Regions from separate parts of the Homo sapiens genome. Here all the other regions are linked to region 6. The links are contacts of gene promoters, found by promoter capture Hi-C in blood cells and fetal thymus (Javierre and others, 2016). All regions are on one chromosome and are shown on one strand. The core of a region is centred on a gene start or on the middle of the fragment in contact, and the rest is flanking DNA. Distances in the headings are between cores, read along the strand shown.

What was found. Contacts are between HindIII fragments. The CHiCAGO score rates a contact against its expected background, and 5 or more counts as called.
Region 1: a fragment that was not itself captured here is called in contact with the fragment with the promoter of RSPH3 in region 6 in 2 of 17 cell types (naive B cells and total B cells); the score reaches 5.3 in naive B cells.
Region 2: a fragment that was not itself captured here is called in contact with the fragment with the promoter of RSPH3 in region 6 in 2 of 17 cell types (naive B cells and total CD8 T cells); the score reaches 5.1 in naive B cells.
Region 3: a fragment that was not itself captured here is called in contact with the fragment with the promoter of RSPH3 in region 6 in 1 of 17 cell types (neutrophils); the score reaches 5.6 in neutrophils.
Region 4: a fragment that was not itself captured here is called in contact with the fragment with the promoter of RSPH3 in region 6 in 12 of 17 cell types (total B cells, naive B cells, megakaryocytes and 9 more); the score reaches 11.8 in total B cells.
Region 5: a contact is called between a fragment that was not itself captured here and the fragment with the promoter of RSPH3 in region 6, in 1 of 17 cell types (total CD8 T cells). The highest score is 5.3, in total CD8 T cells.

Annotation. Positions count from the first base shown.
Region 1 is chr6:158,660,205-158,663,448 of GRCh38, forward strand. It overlaps SYTL3 (synaptotagmin like 3), which reads left to right. Exons shown (of 18, transcript NM_001242394.2): 3 at 1,065-1,181; 4 at 2,546-3,174. The coding sequence starts at 3,065. Among named protein-coding and RNA genes, the nearest start is that of SYTL3, 12 kb to the left of the region's middle. RefSeq lists a silencer at 256-335. The HindIII fragment of the contact is 4,315 bases long and covers 1-3,244 here.
Region 2 is chr6:158,735,869-158,739,302 of GRCh38, forward strand. The region is part of intron 11 of SYTL3 (synaptotagmin like 3); the gene reads left to right. Among named protein-coding and RNA genes, the nearest start is that of MIR3918, 27 kb to the right of the region's middle. The HindIII fragment of the contact is 1,833 bases long and covers 1,266-3,098 here.
Region 3 is chr6:158,610,100-158,613,104 of GRCh38, forward strand. All of the region lies in intron 10 of TMEM181 (transmembrane protein 181), which reads left to right. It also overlaps the pseudogene TATDN2P2. Among named protein-coding and RNA genes, the nearest start is that of MIR7161, 1.9 kb to the left of the region's middle. The HindIII fragment of the contact is 2,812 bases long and covers 9-2,820 here.
Region 4 is chr6:158,707,632-158,710,670 of GRCh38, forward strand. It overlaps SYTL3 (synaptotagmin like 3), which reads left to right. Exons shown (of 18, transcript NM_001242394.2): 8 at 691-760. Among named protein-coding and RNA genes, the nearest start is that of MIR3918, 56 kb to the right of the region's middle. RefSeq lists enhancers at 116-747, 748-1,379. The HindIII fragment of the contact is 2,859 bases long and covers 279-3,039 here.
Region 5 is chr6:158,626,707-158,630,001 of GRCh38, forward strand. TMEM181 (transmembrane protein 181) reads left to right here. Exons shown (of 17, transcript NM_001376852.1): 14 at 1,702-1,784; 15 at 3,024-3,113. Among named protein-coding and RNA genes, the nearest start is that of DYNLT1, 16 kb to the right of the region's middle. The HindIII fragment of the contact is 378 bases long and covers 1,612-1,989 here.
Region 6 is chr6:158,998,705-159,001,991 of GRCh38, forward strand. RSPH3 (radial spoke head 3) reads right to left here and starts at 1,498. Exons shown (of 8, transcript NM_031924.8): 1 at 731-1,498. The coding sequence starts at 846. TAGAP-AS1 (TAGAP antisense RNA 1) reads left to right here and starts at 1,169. Exons shown (of 5, transcript NR_183546.1): 1 at 1,169-1,688. RefSeq lists enhancers at 241-1,212, 697-846, 867-916, 947-1,016, 1,187-1,346 and 2 more. The HindIII fragment of the contact is 7,152 bases long and covers 1-2,771 here.

The DNA of each region.
Region 1 (3,244 bases), core at 601-3,100, 340 kb before region 6:
CAGTGAGCCGAGATCGCACCACTGCACTCCAGCCTGGACAACAGAGCAATACTCCGTCTCAAAAACAACAACAACAACAAAAAACAAAAAACAAAAAAACCCGGAACAGCGCCTGGGGTGTTCAATAAATATTTACTGAATGACTGGATGAATGGATCCAGGAAATGAACTGAATTTCATTTTTCTGTAACGCGGAGTGAATGGGCACTAGGGGGAGCGTGAGCTCCCTCTTAGCCTTCGAAAGGGCGTTTCCCACACTTGCACCTGGGGCCCACAGGCGGGGGTTTGGGAAAGTAAGTGTAGTGCTTTGTAATGATCATTGAACCCTGTATTTCTGAAGTGCGTTAAGACCTAATAGCCACCTGTATGAGCGAGCGGTTGAGTATTTCAGATTCCCCCACCAGATTCACTGAGTGGTGTCATTACCAGCCAATACTGCAGCTATGTGGTCCTGCTTACCTGGAGTACTGGAGACCAGAGCCAGAGAACGGAGCACAAACAGCCACATGAAAAGAAAGCACAGTGCACAGAGCAAGTGTTTGCAGCCAGGTGCAAAAACTCTTCACTAAAAACACTCGAGAGCCAGGTGCAGTGGCTTACACCTGTAAACCTAGCACTTTGGGAGGCTGAGACAGGAGGACTGCTTGAGCCCAGACCAGCCTGCGCAACATGGTGAAACCCATCTCTACAAAATTAAAACATTAGCTAGGCATGGTAGCCCGCACCTGTAGTCCCAGCTACTCGGGAGGCGGAGGCTAAAGGATTGCTTGAGCCTGGGAGGCCAAGGCTGCAGTGAGCCATGATGGTGCCACTGCACTCCAGCCTGGGTGACAGAATGAGGTCCTGTCTCAAAATAAATAAATGAAAACTCAAGAATTAGACAAACCAGATGGCTCTGGACCCAGTAGTACGATTAGTAGAGTGGAAATAAGAAGACAGCATGAAGAACTGAGGGGCAAGTTGAGAAGAATGGGCTCGTGCAGTTGGTGACTTGATGGCTAATTTGCACCTTGCCACTTGGCACTTGGTCACACACAGTTTTCTATTACTTTCCTCTTTTCCAGAGACTCAGAGCCTTGGGGCACTGAGGGATGCCAGTTCTGCCTGTTCATCTGGAACCTGGATCTAAGGAGGGAAGAGGCGTTGCCCCTGCTGGCATAGTCAGGTACCAGCCCAGCCAGGTAAGAACCTAAAGTCCTTGTTGCTTTGTGATTTTCCCTTCATCTAGAGAGGAGGCCTTTGGAGAACAGGTCTTGTGGGTGCTTTGTCAGAGACTAGAAGCCGAGAACATCCCTTTTCAGAGCTCTGGGTTTTCTGTTCCTCATGCAACCTCTGCAGTTGGGATGAATAATATATTTTAATTTTATTTTACAATAGGGAAACTGACAAATATTGAATTCCTGAACTGAGCAATCTTGGCCTGTAGGCCCATGAACTTGGAGAAAAAATTAAATCTTTATTTTTATTAACCTTTAACTCAAATTTAGCATTTTCTTAAAATATGGATATAGGCAAGAAACCACAGTAGAATCAGCAGAACTTGTGACTTTGTCACCAACAGAAATCACAGATATTTTCATACCACATGATATGTTGTAGCTATCTCAAGACATTGTTTCTATTCATCACTACTTTGAAATTCTGGGAGTCCTTAGATCACTGCTAGATCTTAATATTTCATGCATCAAGGAACACATATATTACTATATTACAATTTTTAAATATTTCAGTATAATCAATTTCTTCCTATGTAACACAGCATACCTTATTTTATGCGTTTAAATACGTAGGCTTCACCAGACTACCAAAGATTAAGAAAAAGGTTAAGAACCTTTGCTTAAAGGAAATGCTACCTTAGAGCTCTGTTAGCCTCTCATTCACTAATTTGCCATGGATCATAAATTAATATAATGCAGATTTTTTTTGAAGCCTAGCAAAGGAAGTTTAGCTTTTAAAGCATTGAAAGGACGTCTTATCACTAAGGGATTCCCATAGATTTAATAACAAAAATGGTACTATAGGAAGTATATTGATTTGATCTTCTGCATTTTCTGGATAAAAGGATGTATGCAGAACCTTTCAGCTGTCATTAAACAAAAACAAGAGCTAATGCATAAGGCAGCTCATGAAACTTATTCAAGACTGTAAATAATTGATAGGCTGAGCTTGTGGTGGTGCTGCTTCATACATCCTTAATTGATTAAACATTTTTTGAGTGTTGAAGTTAATGGTAAAAATAATAGCCAACAGTTGGGAATGTCATTTTTCCAGTATTTCTTCAATTAGGGTAATGTACATTAAACACAGACTTTTACGTCCTCTGACCACTAAAGTTATGGAATCCATATTAGGAAAATTCAAGTTTGGAAGTTTGAGGCTTTTAGAAATATGAGAAGTGTTATTTAAGCAAATTTAAAATTTTACATTATCACCGCGAGCAGAAAATGCAAGGGTTTGTGTAGAATATTTTGTCTTTTTGGAAGTAATGCTGCAGAGATACTTAAGCCAAGAAAAATGTTGCCATTTTTTGTTTTCTTTTCTGCAGGTATTGAACGGGCTGAGCTTTTCATGATGGTTCCTGCTGACCTGGAAACATCTTAAATGGAAGGTTAGCTTCTATGAGTCACTGATACTCTTTTTATTGCTATTTCTAAATTTCCTTGGCTTGAAAATTACTTCTGCTTTGCAGAAATTATCTGCTTGCAGCTGTGGATAATTTATAACAATCTCTGGTGAAACCTCAGAAAAGAGATATGCTTTTGTCTTAGATGGATGTCAGCAGCTGCTGCAGAACCCGGTGAAAACACCCCCCGGGTAGCACGAGGCTCTGCGAGCCGTAACTCCGACAAACGCAGAACTTCTTGAGGCTTTCTTCTTCTAAGGAGTATGACACAGTTAAAAAGGAAAAAAGAACCACAAGCAAAACAGTTGCCAGTGAAATAGGAGAGGGAGCTCTTTAAACAAGGCTGGCTGCAGCTGGCCTCCGCCGCTCATCTGCAGGGCGTGAGCGCTTGGTCCATGCAGTGAAGCTCTTCCAACCTGGGTCAACGAAAACGGAGAAGAAATGGCCCAAGAAATAGATCTGAGTGCTCTCAAGGAGTTAGAACGCGAGGCCATTCTCCAGGTCCTGTACCGAGACCAGGCGGTTCAAAACACAGAGGAGGAGAGGACACGGTAGGCTGCCCTTCCCGGGGGGTCACTTTGGGTGTTTAGCTTTCTCTGCTTGGGGCCTGCCACTCCGTCG
Region 2 (3,434 bases), core at 932-3,431, 260 kb before region 6:
ACAACTTTTCTAGAGGGCAATTAGCAGTAGATGTCAGAAGCTTTTACTTGTTCTCTTTAGTTGAACTCTCTTTAGTTGAAGAACTTCAGTCACAGGAACTACTCTTTAAAAATTATCATGAATGTTGGCCAAAATGTGCATACATAGATGTCCCAGACAGCATTGTTTATAATTGTTTTAATTTTGAAAAACTGTCAACAACGGCCGGGCGCGGTGTCTCACGCCTGTGATCCCAGCCTTTGGGAGGCCAGGGCGGGTGGATCACAAGGTCAGGAGTTTGAGACCATCCTGGCCAACATAGTGAAACCACATCTCTACTAAAAATACAAAAAATTAGCCGGGCGTTGTGGCGGGTGCCTGTAATCCCAGCTACTCGGGAGGCTGAGGCAGGAGAATGGCATGAACCCGGGAGGCAGAGTTTGCAGTGAGCCAGGATCACGCCACTGCACTCCAGCCTGGGCGACAAAGCGAGACTCCTGTCTCAAAAAAAGAAAAACTGTCAACAACCAAAATGTCAAGAGAAAGTTAAATTATGGAGAATGTGCACACAGTATTATTCTAACTGTATAAATTTCAAAATCAGGTAAAACTAAACAGTAGATTGTTTGGGGGATATATTCATGTATAATAAAACCATTGGCTGGATGCAGTAGCTTATGCCTGTAATCCCAGCACTTTGGGAGGCCAAGGCGGGCGGATCACCTGAGGTCAGGAGTTTGAGACCAGCCTGACCAACATGGTGAAACCCCATTCTACTGAAAATACAAACATTAGCCAGGCATGGTGGCAGGTGCCTGTAATCCCACCTACTTGGGAGGCTGAGGCAGGAGAAATGCTTGAACCTGGGAAGTAGAGGTGGCAGTGAGCTGAGATCGTGCCATTGTACTCCAGCCTGGGCGACAAGAGCGAGACTCTGTCTCAAAAAAAAAAAAAAAAAAGTAGAAAAAGTAAAACCATCAAGAAAATCAAGGATGATTAACAGACAGTTTGAAATAGTGTTTCCTGGAGACAGGAATGAGAGGGGATTTGATAAGGGAGGAGGAGTTCTGGGGCACTTCTGAAGTCCTGGCGATGTTATTTTTCTTAAGCTGAGAGTGGGCATGTGGATGTTAATTTTATAATTGTTTAATCCTATATGTTATATGTACTCTTTTGTTATACATTTCATGGCAAAAAAAAAAAAAACAACGAAAAATCAAATGATTTGCTTAGCTTACAAAGGTCATCCACATTTTGTGGCATTTTTAAAAGGCTGATAATCACTAAGCTTACCATGCATAGGCATGGTTCTAAGTCTTTTTCCGTGTGTTAACTAATTGAACTTCACCATGACCCTATGAAATAGATCCCCATTTTACAGATGAGGAAGCTGAGGCTCTGGAGGGTAAGATAATTGGTCAAGATCACACAGCCACTAAGTGTCAGGGCCAGGCACTGGAAGGCTGCTGTGTGGCCTCATCACTCACCATCTTAACCACTTTGCAAAAATGTTCTCAGTGTGTTCTTATCAGGATTTATTATTTTTAATTTAGCTGTGGCTTCAGTTGACTCTGAGTTTTCTGCCCTTGTGAAATAAAAGGGCATGAAACTTAGCTTGCAGTTACAGGAGATACATTTGTGACCTTCAGAGAAAGTCACTGGCAGAAGGCTCCCTGCCTGCCTTGAGTTTTTCCTTTGCCGTTACCCAGATTGACTTTCTTTCAAACCCAGACTGTGCCAATGGCTTTAATAAAAGTCAGGCTGAGTTTTGGGTTGCGCTTCTGGGCCAGAATCTTTTGGTTGACTCCATTTGCTGCATTCAACTTGTAACCTGCTCAAAGGCTCTGTTCTGGCTCCAGAGAGAGCAGAACCAGGAGCCCTGCCAGGGCGATGGTGGTGGAGCCATGAGTCGCCTGGGAAGGAACGCATTTGATGGATGGACGTGCTCTGCTCTCCTTTCATTATGAGGGTGTATCCTCCCCGTCCCTGCTCAGCAGACACAGCGGTTGAACTACTCAGAGACATGAGCATACATTATGGCCCAGAGATTTAGGAGCCCTGGTCCACTTTCAGGTCTGCTTCTGATGTGTGATGCAATTTGGGGCATGACTCAACCTGCCTTGACCTTCGTTTATCTACTTATAAAATGATGAGTAATGACAATGCTTCCTGGATGCTTTATAATTCTGGGTGCCAACCTGGACAAGCGCAGCTGTGCCCTTTCTTTCTACCTGCACACCAACAGCTGCACACCCAAGGAGCAAAGTGCATGGCAGGGCAGCCCTAACCCCAGGACACTCACGCCTGCATGCTGGAGATTAGGTCTGCCCTGTTGTGTTCCCAGGTCCACTGTGCCCAGCACTGCCCAGCAATCCTGATGTCTTTGCCTGATTAACACAGTTTTTTTGCTCTCCACAACAAACATTTCACACCTCCTCCAGTCTTTTCAAACCTGCTCTTCCTCCTCACTCTCAAATCTCCCTTTTTACTCTACCAAGAAAGAAAAGAATCAGTTTGAAATTTCCCAATCCTCCTGATAGCAAAATTAACCAACCGCATTTGCACCCAAGTGACTCTTCTTTCCCCACCCGCAATAGAAGAAGCTGATGCCTGCAGCAATACTTGGGATCCTGCCCTCCCCTGCCTTCTCTGTTCCTTATTCTATTACTTGTCCTTCCTCTCTCTTACGCATTCAGCCTCTACTTACCTGGACCCTGAAACACATTCAAGTCTCCTGTAATAAAACACCTTCACTAAACCTTCCATTCCCCTCCAGCTACCACTTTTCTCTCCCCACCTCAGCTAATCTTTTTATTTTGTTTTGTTTTGAGATAGAGTCTCGCTCAGCTGCCCAGGCTGGAGTACAGTGGTGCTATCTCAGCTCACTGCAACCTCCACCTCCTGGGTTCAAGTGATTCTCCCACCTCAGCCTACCAAGTAGCTGAGATGACAGGTGTGTGCCACCGTGCCCAGCTAATTTTTGTATTTTTAGTGGAGACAGGGTTTCGCCATGTTGGCCAGGCTGGTCTTGAACTCTTGACCTCTAGCGATCCACCTGCCTTGGCCTCCCAAAGTGCTGGGATTACAGGCGTGAGCCACTGCACCTAGCCCCTCAGCTAAGCTTTTATTAGTTGTCTGCACTTGGCATTCCCACCTTTCCCCTCCCACTCACACAGCCCTCCCTGTCTGGCTCCCTGCAAAAGAAGGCGCCGTCTCTTCCTGCCCTTCTGTACATTCATATTTCAGCTGTGTCTCATCTAAATAGCACAGTCAGATGTTTTTAAAAATCCAGTCATTGACTTTTTTTGTAGTATGTAACCTGTTCTAGTTTATTGTAACTACTTTTTTCTCCTGTGTTACTGTCTCTACCACCTTCTTTTCATCATTCTTTTTGGATTAAACAAGTCTGGCTTCTATCATTTCTGGTGGGCAGTAAAATGGTTAAATCTTACTGT
Region 3 (3,005 bases), core at 165-2,664, 390 kb before region 6:
ATCACCAAAGCTTCTCTAGAGACGCAGCCAGCTCAAGCTGTCTCTTAAATACCTTGTGATGTTCTGGGACAGGCATGGTGCACTTGTAGGAGTAATTGAAGCCTGTTTCTCCAAATGCCACAGTCGTGGGGTGCCTTAAGGCTTGTAAAAGATTTCTTTCCTGACTCTTATTGTAGTAACATGGAAAATGAGGGTGACAGCCAAAGGCCCCCCAGACCAGATTCTCTTTCAACAGCTCCCCCCGTAGGCAATTTGTCAGGGTGAGGGTGGCAGAGGTCAGAGATGCAACCCTGAAATTCCTTAGAGAAGGAGCTGCTGTAAATTCTTCTGAACTTAGTCAAGGTCCCTTTGAAAGACAACTTGGAATACAGCATATCCAAATGACAGTGGGTATCAGTGAAGCCCTGCTCTAGGCTTGGCTCCCAGTGGCTCTTTGGCAGGGAGCTGGATGTGTGTCCTCCACAAGGACACAGAGGCATCTCCTCTTGGAATGTTCTTCTTTGCTTCACCTCTTTTCCTCCCGAGCTTCTGGAGAAGTGAAATGAGTGAGAATTCTGGGAGCTGCCTTCCTCTGAGGCCTCCACATCTCTGGAGACGTTATGGGCGCTCACTGCAGAGTTGGGGGAAGAATCACTCAGGCACTCGGGCTGCTCCTCCCAGCCTGTGCTGCGTCATTGCTGCTGCTGCTCACAGACAGGTAGCCGGCAGGCTTGGGGCTGCTGGTGCACTAGCTGACATACTCACACCAAGGACTACTGTAAAAATGAGGCAGGTACATGACATAGTAGTGAAGGAAGAAGGCTCTGGAATGGCTGAGGGTTTCAGTGGGACGGGTTCCTCCTGAGAGAATCTGACCGTGGAGATCTCCAGATCAGACCAGTTGCTTCCTGAAGAGGGGTGCTCCATCACCACCTCCCTATCTTTATGCTTTCGGATTTCTAAATGAGAGAGTCATCCAGAAACTCGAGGGGTGGAGAGCATTTGTCAGTGACTGTCCTTTGGTCCCCAAGGGGCTCCTCAGTGGGTTTCTCCTGAGGGTCTGTGACTACTCTCCTGTCACAGAAGCTGCTCCTCTCTGGCACTGTCTTGTCCTTCTCCACTGACCTCTGGGATTGACTATCCTTCTCAGCAGGGGTGACTGTGACACTCCTGGCTGTTCCTTCTCAGTCTTGGCTGGTCCTTCACTCCTAGCTGGTCCTTCTCCACAACTGGGACACTCTGCTATGCTTGGTTTTGAACTAGTGACAGCCTCTCCCTTCCTTTTCGGCATTGATTTCCCTGGATGCCCTGGTTAGCCTCCAGGTAGATCATTGTGGAGCCCTGATGTCGAAGTCTATCCGTCTTCCTTTTCTGGACCTTGTTGGGTTCCTCAGTCGTATCATTCTGACTCTCAGCTTCAGTTGCAAATTAAGAGTTCATGGAGTTACGAGAACTATCTTTGGAATCAGCCTTAAAGCTGCAGGCTTCCTTTTCTAGAGAAGCTATTTCTTCTAGAAAGGGATTGGTAGGATGTGGAGGGGTTCCCCCTGACGAAAGGACTCCCTGAGTGCTCTGAATCAGGCAGCCTTTGGTGGCGGCCCCGCCCACACCTGTGCCCGAGGAATGCCGGGGAGGAATGTAAGAGTTAAAGAAAGGAAAGAAACAGGAAAAGCGGCTCAACAGTCAAAGACAGGTTTGTTTTGGACAATAAACCTGAGAGGGCCTTCTGGCCGAGTTAGGTCAGAGTCACTCTCTCTTACAGGCTAAGAGTATTTAAGGGTTCAGGGCAGAAGAGGTTATCACAGGCTTGGAATGTTTCTGTATCTCTTCGCCTTGCTTATCTGGGAGGGGGAGGTTTTGTGTCTGTTCCCATACAACTCCCTGCAGCTGCAGGGATACCCCCCCCACCTCCTAGTCTGCTTTTAGCTTGTCTATCTTAGCGCATTTAAAGGGAAAGGAATGTGCTTATTAGGGCCTACTTTTTTACTGGGGCCCATTTTTGGGGGCCCATTTACACTCCCAAAACATGAGTGTGAAGTTCGGTGGTTACCCAAGAGACTTGGGTGCCCAGCTGTGCCCAGCTGTCTTATCTGTGTTTTACTGTCTACTCTTTCTGGCTGCTTTTTGTTAGAAGTGATTTCCTTGAAACGTAAGAAGTTAGAAAGGGAGCTGGAACTGAAAATGGGGGTGTTTGTCCAAGATGACGGTGCTCCTGCTCTGTCATTCCAGACCCTATAGTTATAAAAGGACCAGGGGCGACGTGTTCTTTCTGGTTACTTCCTGCTGGGTGGGAGAGGTAGAGAGTCCCTTGGTCTCGGATTGACTGCGGGAGCAATGCCGTCTGTAGATGTTTTGGATAGTTGTCTGTGAAATAGCCATGCTCCTGTCAGTTAAGAATCTTTGAAAAAGGTTAATTAGGCAGGGTAAAAACATTAGTCCTAGGCTTATTATTAGGAGAGGGCCCAGGAATGGGATGACCCATGGTATGCTTTTTGTTCCCAAACCAATAATTCATTTGGTTGTTTTGGTATTCGCTTAGCATTTTAGCCCTTTGTTTGAGATTTTTAGCAGCCTCTCTTACGAGACCTGATTGGTTGAGATAGAAGCAACATTTCTTTCCCAATGAGAGGCAGAGGCACATGTTTGGAAAGACCCATGTGTTATTTTTTATTAGTAACTGTTATTCCTGCTGTAAGGATAGTAATTAAGCAAAATGCTACGGTAATTGAGATTGTCTGTCTGATATCCTACCCTCAGGGTGCTGCAGTACATAGTCCTACTGCAAATAGTCCAGTAAAGCAGTTCCCGCAAGGGTGGCATGGTAAATAATTTCCATAAAAAAGCTTTAATATTTGGCTTAAAAGGAGAGGTAGAAATGACAAAAAGTACTTGGTGAGGTAAGAGTGAGACTGAGTCAGATGAGTAATTGTCACTCAGTTAGTTATTTTTTATGATTTTCAACTTAAGATTTCTTATTTCTTTACATTGATATTTAGGACGTTCCTCTGGGCTGTTGGGATTGCTTC
Region 4 (3,039 bases), core at 458-2,957, 290 kb before region 6:
CCCTACCCAGCGCCTGGCGCGTTAGAGATACTGGTGAAATAAACATTGATAGAATTGAATAATGGCCTGAGAGATGTGAACTTCTTTGCACAAAATTCTAAAAACTGAGCAGTCATGAAGCTGGCCATAATTCACACACCTGATTACACTCAATTTATTAAAGTGTTTCTGAAAGCTCCCCACCAGCTGCTATTTTGTTTGGCCCATGGTGAAATTTTCCAATATCGAGACTTTTTCATTTTTTTCCTCCCCTGTTCTTTCCCATTTCTTTTAGCACAAGCTTCCAGTTTGCTTCGTGGTTGATTCTCACATCCACAACATTTTTGGCGCTTCTGCTGGTGTGGTTTGTGCTAAGAGAACACGGGAGCGCAGATGGGAACCAGGGGTTTCCCCGCAGCCAGGTGGCAGGTCCAGGCCGGAGCACCCAGGCTGTTTCAGAACACATGACTGAGTGGGGCGGAGTACCCAGACTTTAGGCAGCATCGCCCTCATATAGATACCAGGAAATCATGCCCCTCGTAGAGCAGCAGGTCCAAGCAGGGCTGCTGGCTATTTTTCCAAAAAGTGAGGCAGTTTAAAAAAAAGGCGGAGAACTAGAATTATAGAATAATGGCACATTTTGTGTATTTGTAAAACTAACGGCTTGCATGGTTCACAACCCATTTCTTATGCCTGTGTTTTCCTTGGCAGCAAAATTTCTGTGGTTCCTCCTACTCCACCTCCTGTCAGCGAGAGCCAGTGCAGCCGCAGTCCTGGCAGGGTAACGTATCCATTCTGGGCACTTCTCTAGTAGGGGTCAGGGGATAGAAGGAGAGGAAGCAGGGGAGCTTTCGAGGCTGAGGCCGGGCACGGAACCTCCCAGCAAAGGGATCTGACTGTGCCTGGAGCGGGTCACAAAGCGGGGTGGGGAGCGAGGGCCCTCAGGCTGGGCAGAGCTTCTCTCCTCATTCTGGTCGCGGGACCCTCTGTGTCATCAGCGACCCTTTCTGCCTGCACCCGAGGTCTCTTTACTCTTGGCATGGCATCGGCCCCCTTCCCCAACTCTGCTCTGTGCTGGGCGTGTGTGTAGAGTCTCTGGGGTCTAAGGGGAAATAAGATTGGTTAACGTGTGTGTGAGTGGGAGTGTCTCTTTTGAGTGTTTGCAGGCTCTGATGTACAGTGGACCAGCACCATTTCTGTCCAAAGAAATTAGCTGTGTGATCTTGGGGCAGTTACCTGGGTTTCCCACCTGAGAGGTGGAAATAATTATACAGGTGCTGCTTGACTTATGATGAGGTTATGTCCCAATACGCCCAAAGTAAATTGAAAATACTGTAAGTCAAAAATATATTTAGCTAGGCGCGGTGGCTCACGCCAGCACTTTGGGAGGCCGAGGTGGGTCACTTGAGGATAGGAGTTCGAGACCAGCCTGGCCAACATGGTGAAACCCTGTCTCTACTAAAAATACAAAAATTAGCTGGTCATGGTGGCAGGCACCTGTAGTCCCAGCTACTCTGGAGGCTGAGGCAGGAGAATTGCTTGAGCCTTGGAGGTGGAGGTTGCAGTGAGCCAAGTGCCACTGCCCTCCAGCCTGGGCAACAGAGCAAGACTCCATCTCAAAAAAAATAAATTGTATTTAATACACACCTAACCTACCAAACATCATAGCATAGCCTAGCCTGCCTTAAAAGTGCTCCGAACACTTGCGTTAGCCTACAGTTGGGCAGAATCATTTAATGCAGAGCCTATTTTATAATAATAAAAATGTTATTAATAATACAAAATAGAAAAGATCAAAATGCAAAGTACGGTTTCTACTGAATATATATTGCTTTCACACCATCATCAAGTCAGAAAATTGTAAGTCAAACCATCGTAAGTCAGGGAGTGTCTATATTTGTATATATCGTCTATATTTGTATGGCTGTTGTGAGAAATTAACAAAATAATGTCTGTGTTGGTACTTGGAAAACCGTAAAGTGCCATGGAAATATATTGTCTTGGTTATCTTCATTATTCTATAAATTAAAGGGGGCAGGTATATATGGGAGAATATGGGAGCTGATCATAATCCCAGAAGACATAGTCCTGAGTGCTATCATCCTGAATGTTGGAATCCTGAAAGATCAAAATCCCAAAAATATAATTCTAGAAAATCTAAAAATGATTTTGAAGAAATTTATTTAAAAAATTTAAAGGGGATTTGAGAAACATGTAAAAACATGACAACAGCCTGGGCAACATAGCAAGACCCTATCTACAAAAAATAAAAAAATTAGCTGGATGTGGTAGCACATGCCTGTAGGCTCAGCTACTCAGGAGGCTGAGGGAAGAGGATCCCTTGAGCCCAGGAGGCCAAGGCTACAGTGAGCCATGATTGCGCCAATGCGTTCCAGCCTGGGCAACAGAGCGCGACTGTCTCTAAACAAACAAACTAAAAACAAAAACCATGACAGAACACTTAACTGGCCACTTTACACAATAAATAGGCAAAAACAGCATGCATATTTTTGCAAGCATAAACACTCAGATATACTAATGACAGTCACATGGGTATAACAATTATGAACAGATGAACCATATTCATAAAGAAATACATCAGAAAGGGAAGTGTAGAAATACACATTACTATGGCTGGTATTGTGTGCATCCAGCTTTGTAACTGAAATATTGTCATGAACAGCAGTATTTTTCAAACAGTCATTTGATGAGATGGATCAAAAACCGCCATGGGTCACCATTGCATATACAGTCACCCAAACAGCTGAGATCTCAAGAAATTTTATCTTTTGCAAATACAGATGTACAAAAAGGAGATCTCTTCCCTTAGGAAATATCAACATCTTTATGTACATGTCAGAGTCATGGTGTGATGACGTACTTTGAAGCATGGAGTCAGTTTTCAAAAAAAAAAAAATGCATAACACAAATTAAAACTCTAAAAGTGTCTGTAATTTTTACCTCCAGCATGGGACATGATGAGAACGTGAACTACACAGCATAGCAAACTGTGCTGTGTGTGAAGGGGCAGAATTCATACACAACTAAACTAAATAATTT
Region 5 (3,295 bases), core at 551-3,050, 370 kb before region 6:
GTGTGCACGTTGTCTCTGTGACGTCTCATACACATGGCCATACAACCTCACAACCTCACATAGAGGCTCACTCACACCTCACTCATGCCTTCACTCACAACTGACCCACCCTCACACACACACCTTCACACACACCCTCATTTTCACACATCCTCACACCCTCACTCTCACACTCTCACACCCCCACACCTTCACTCACACACCCTCACCCTCATTCTCACCCTCATTCTCACCCTCACCCTCACCCTCACTCACACCCTCTCACACATCATCACTCACACACCCTCACTCTCAGCACACCCTTACAGCCTCTCACTCTCACACATCCTTACACACACCCTCATTCTCACACCCTCACACCTTCACTGACACACCCTCACCCTCACCCTCGTTTTCACCCTCTCTCACACCCTCACACACCCTTGCTCACACACCTTACACCCTCACTGTCACACATCCTCACACACACCCTCACTCTCACACCCTTACACCTTCACTCACACACCCTCACCCTCAAATTACCTAGTCCCCAAGTTGGGAGCTACTGTCTACTTCTGGTGGCCTCCGTCTCGGAAGTTGCCCTGCCATGTGATCTCTCTTCACATAGGTGTTAGGGGACTCATTTATCCTACAAATAGTTACTGAGTGCCTGTCCTGGCAGACAGGCTTCTCTCTGTCACGGGATTTATGTTCACACAGAGAGAGACGAGTGGCAAACAACTAAATACATTCCCCCTGCGTGCCATGCTGCAGACGAAACAAGGAGATGTGACTTGCAGAGGGGAAGGGTCCACTTTAGATGAGTGGTTTGGGGATGTATCTCTTGGAGAGGCGACATTTGGCTGAGGACCTGAGGAGGAGCCCTGAAAGCTGTGGGGTGGCTGCCCCAGGCCGCAGAACAGGGCACCGGCAGCCTGGGTGGGCGTCAGCATGGCGAGGTGGAGAGACAGCTGCGTCGCTGGAGGCCAGCGTGGCTGGAGATGAGCAGGCGTGGGCACGGCAGGAGGCAGAGCGAGCTCTTGAGTCCAGTTTCCATTCTGTGCTGGGAGACCGCCAGAGGGTCTTGAGCTGGGAGGTGAAAGGGTCTGGTGCACATGTTAAGCCTTCTGGCTGAGGGTGGCATGTGGGAGGTGAGGTGGAAGGCAGGTGGGGGAGGAGCCTGTGGACCTGTGTCCCGAGGCCTCTGTTGTCATCTGTCACCGGCTGGGAGTCTGAACCAAAGATGTTGCCTTCGCTGCTGTGCAAAGTCACTGGAACTGACCGGGGAGGCGTCCCTGTGTCTGAAAGGGGAGCTGTGACGAAGGAGAAGCAGGCTTCCCTCGGGAGAGGGGCTCTGTCACAGGAGATGGTCTCGAAAACCTGAGTTACAAAAGCAAGAGCAGGGAGGAAATGTGCCAAGGAGGCTTCAAGGCCCCGAGTAGGGAGAGTGTGATGGGGCCTGCAGCAGGGTTCATCCTGTCCCTGCAGCCGGCCGGTGGGTCTAGCCCACCTAGATCCGAGACCAAAAACCAGAAGCAGGGGCTGTGTGTGTGTGTGCATGTGTGCATCTGTGCGTGCATCTGTGCATGTGTGTGGAAGTTCCCATGCAGAAATCATAGTGTACAGACGGAAAGCTTGAATGGGGTGAATAGAGAATTCTCTGAAGCTAGTGCCGTTTTCGTGCATGTTTACATATTGTCTCTGCTCCTCTGTCTTGTTCAGCATCGCCATCCTTTATTTGAGATTTGGGGCGCAAGTACTACAAGACAATTTTGTAGCAGAGCTGTCAACTCACTACCAGAATTATATCCTTTTCACTGGAGGGCCCTGGCTGCAGGACGCCTGCTTAGCATTGCAGCAGTTAGTGGCTCAGATTTGCCCCTCTCAAGAGGAGACAGGTCAGCTCCTCGCGCCCTGTTCTCCGGAGGCCTCGTCTCTGCTGAGAGGTGTCTCAGTTGGCCCCGCTGCAGCCGTGGGAAGGGGCAGCCTGTCCCTCCTCTGTACACAGGAAGCTTGGCTCAGTAGTTGCCCCAGGTCAGGTTTCGGGTGGCAGAGCCCGGCTCCAAACCCAGAGAGGCTGGCGCTCTGGAGCGTGCCCACGCCACGCTGCTTTCCACCCAGAGGGGCAGGTGCTGTGAGGTAAATGAGGTGCGGTTGCCTCTCCACACCGCGGGGCTCCAAGCCCCTACTGCCCTCCAGCAGAGCACTGTGGGGTGGCTGAGGGCTGCCGTGAGCCTCCTGTCTCCCCCCGGGATATCTCTCTCATCATCACGGAGATGTATCCAAGGGTATGACAGTTGTGGCAGGTTGAGCCTGTGTCTGTAGGGAAGAGCTCAGAAAATACTGGGACCCCCTTCGATTCCCGCTGTGCCTGAGGCCAGTGGCGCAGGGCTGTTGCCTCCCGGGAGCCCTGGCCTCGCCCAGAAGTCGGAGAGGTTAGGTATGTGCTTTCCACTCTTTGTTGGGGACACTTCAAGAGTTAATCCTTTAGATCCTGGGTTCTTTCTTTGGGATTTCTTATGTCCCAGTTAATGCATGAATTAATATACGATTTTTTCAAAGTTTTGTGACTGAATTTCACACTAAGCTTTTATCTGATTTTCATAGGGGTCTGTAATCCAGAAATGTTCAGAGCAATTGGTTTGAGAGTTTGTTTCCAATTCTTTATTTCATTATTGTGTCTAGAGACCTTGATTCACCGTATGCCCGTGGCCTTCCTGCCCTTTTCATGTAACTTGATCTCTTCTGGCCCTGCCCTCGGTGCTGGTGACAGGAGCGCCACCAGATGGCTCAGTGGGTCCAGGTTTCCACTGATGTGAGAGGCCATAGTTCACCTGTTATTTACTGTGACCTCGAAGAGTGCTTGTGACCCCTGGCTGTGGGCTTGAACTGTGGAGTCCTGACGTCTGGGTAATGGACCCCCGGGCACTGGCGGGTGCTTGGCACTAGAAGGGGCTGCTGATGGCGGGAGGAGTGGTCGGGCTGTAGGCAGAGCCTCTGACTGATGTGTCCAGATGCCGCGTTCCTTCCCTTGACAGCACCACCAGCCGAGTTCTTATCTTTCTATGGCCTGTTGAACTTCTATCTCTACACCTTGGCCTTTGTATATTCTCCATCGAAGAATGCCCTCTATGGTAAGCCACCCTGGGGTCTGGACTGCTGGCCAGTTAGCGGGCACAGAGGCCTGTGTTCATCCACGACCCACTTCCCGGGTTTCCCATTCATGTGGGCGCTGTGATTCCCAGTGACTTCTCTTGGCAGAGAGAGAGTGAGTTGAAATGTCGAGCTCTGAGGTGAGTTGGGGCCCAGCATATGT
Region 6 (3,287 bases), core at 248-2,747:
GATTAGCCGGGGGTGGTGGAGGGCGCCTCTAGTCCCAGCTACTTGGGAGGCTGAGGCAGGAGAATCGTTTGATCGGGGAGGAGTGGGGGAGGGGGGCGGAGGTTGCAGTGAGCGGAGATCGCGTCATTGCAGTCCAGCCTGGGCGACAAGAGCGAAACTCCGTCTCAAAACAACAACAGCAACCACCACCACCACCACCACCACCACCACAAAAAACCAATCTGTGGTCCTGCATGGAAGAATAATCTTACTCCTGCTCAAAGCCTGCCGAAGAGATTTACTCGGCTCCCATTTTGGATATGCTACTGTTGGATATCTTTGCACCGCGGTCTCCTCATCTGCATAATGGAGTTATAAAATCAACTTCACAGCACTGTGGATTAACTAAGAAAACGTATTTGAATGCCCCCCGTAAGGTGCTCAGCACGTAGTTGGCCCTCAATACACACTGGTACAATTCAAACTTTGTGAAATGAGCCAATTCGTGTACATGTTAAGGACCACGGCAGCAACTCATATCACTAAAAGTTAACTGATGCCCAACCCATGCCCCTTCCTGCTTCACTCCTCCACACCACGGGAGATTCCTTAGGGCAGAACTTTTATTTCGGCAGAGTGCAGCCAAGGGAAGACAGCATAAGCAGCTTTTTTGCCAGGGCGAAGGGGCCAGACCCCGGCCTGGGGATGGGGTGCAAGTATGGACCACACAGGGGCTGGCTTGGTCACTCACGGCTGCGTCAGGCTGTCCCGGTAACGGCTGCGCTGGCAGGGCAGTGCTCGGGGCCGGCTGGTGTAGGTGTAGGTGCTCGGGGCCCGAGAGGTGCGATCAGTCAGCGCTGAGGCCATGTCCGGGGGCTGACTGCCTCGCTTTCGGTGGAGCTTGGCTTTGAAGCAGGTGGGCGCTAAGGTGTTGTGGGACCCGGAGAGATGTAAGTAGTGCCAAGGGCAAGGATTCCGCGACGCGAGGAGAGGCGACAACAAGGGAGGCGGGCGGGACGGGAGGTTACCAGCGCAGGAGGTGGGAGCTATACTGGGCTCGCTCCCAGCACCACAGAGACCAGCTGCGGGGGCCGCATCGGTTGCCCAGCAACCCAGGGTTCTGTCTGGGGGCGGGAACTCCGGGCAGTTCCGGTCCCCAGGTTTCCCGGGAAGGACTGCGGCACAAGGGACTTCCGGCTCTTGACTCCGCCCAGCCGCGCCACCCAGGTAGGTGCGCCTGCGCTTTGCGAGGTTCCTGGCTAGGGAGGCGGCCTTGGCTGGCTTGACCGTCATCCTTGAGGCCTGCGGGGCAACGGTGGCTGTCCTTGGCCCGGCTTTGGAATGTGGCTTTGCAGGGCTGGTGTTGGCGCCATTCTCGCAGGCCCACGTGCTCCTGCTCTTCCAGGGTGTCCTCGGCTGTTTCTCCTGCCGCGGCGCAGCAGCGCTCCCAGGCTGCCCCCGCGATAACACGCCCCTGGCAGCCAGGCTCCCAGCTCTGTTACGTGCCCGGGCGGGGAAGAGCTTCCTGGTGTCTCCCGGCTCCTGCCCTTCTCCCGCCCCAGGGGCGGGCTGCCGCCGCCCTCTGCAGCTGAGTCAGTGCAGTTCCTCACCTACCTTCTCTGCTCACCGCTGTGTGCTAGCAATCGGAGGACCCTTGGCACACGGAGCGACAGGGGCCTCCCCCACAGACACCTCATTTTGGGAAAGAAGTGAGCAATTTATTGAGTCTTAAAAAATACAAAGGCATAGTTCCCCTTAATCTATCAGGCTTCCAGCTCTAAAGAATGTCTCTAGTATTGCGGGGTGGGGCTGCGCTTAAAAACGCAGACGCTTTGGTTTTAGTACCAGCAACGTTAAAAATCTTCTATCTTGTATGAGTGAATGTGTATCCCTTGTGATCAGTTATTTGCATTTGCAGTTACACCTTCATTCAGCTAATTGCTGTCTTGATTTGAATCCAGGTTCTAGAATGTACTAGCTCCGAAACCTCAGGCAAGTTAAATGTTTTTGTGCTTCATTTTCCTAATCCACAAAGTGGCAATAGAAGAATTTATCTCTTTAGGTTTTGTCTTGAGGATTAAAACCGTTAATACTTAGAGCTGTGCCTGGTAAATGGCAAGCCTTTATATTAAGATCTGGACCGTTCTGTGCTTTGAAGTGTATGACCTAAAGCAGATGTAGGCATTCTATAAGTAACACTAGCATAAAGGTGTATGGTAAATTCTAGAGGTGAAAACACTCCCAACATATTTTAGGTCTGATCATTTAATTTTGAGGTAATTTCTGAAAGGGCTAGAGGAGAAAGTGACATTTAAGTTGTGTTTGATAAATGATAGTATTTTAACTGGCCAGCCTCTTGGGGGAAGTGCATTCGGAATGGCTTGATCAAAGGCTCAAGAAGCCCAAGGTGCATTTGGAAAACTGTAAGCAAGGTTTGTGTAGATGAGTTGTAGAAATATATATAGACAGGCTGACACCACATCGTGGAAACAGTAAACACTAGCATATTAATTAGAATATTTTTTCCCTCAAGTAACAAAAAACCAATTCCAAGTGGCTGAAATAATAAGGAATTCATTATTTTACACTCCCCAGGTTGGTTAACCTGGAGGGTAACTTGGGGGCTCAGCACATTATCAACAACACGTTTTTTCCCCTACCTTTCCACTCTGTCACCTGGGTTGTTGGCTTCAACAAAGTAGTAATAGAAGTATCTGCTCTTTTGTCTTTATTGGAAGAGCAAAACCCCCTCGTAAACTCCCAACTGACCAGAATTACATCATATTGATTTAAGCTTAGGATCTATATAAGACCACCATATTTGGATTAGACCAGGTAACCGGTCTTTCTAGGCCTCCAAGAAACACTTGGCCAGGGAGGAGGAGAACAAATTCTGTTAGGAGGATGTTGGGGCAGAATTGAGTGGGTATTAAGTGGGTAAACAATAGTGCTATACCAGCCACAGTGGGCTTTATAAAGAAATTGATAGCCACTATAGGTTCTTGTACAAGTTTCTTTCTTTTTTTTTTTTTTTAGATGGAGTCTCGCTCTGTGGCCAGGCTGGAGTGCAGTGGCGCGATCTTGGCTCACTGCAACCTCCGCCTCCCCGGTTCAAGTGGTTCTCCTGCCTCAGCCTCCTGAGTAGCTGGGACTACAGGCGTGTGCCACCCCGTCCAGCTAATTTCTGTATTTTTAGTAGAGGCGGGGTTTCACCATGTTGGCCAGGATGGTCTTGTTCTCTTGACCTGGTGATCCGCCCTCCTCAGCCTCCCAAAGTGTTGGGATTACAGGCGTGAGCCACTGTGCCT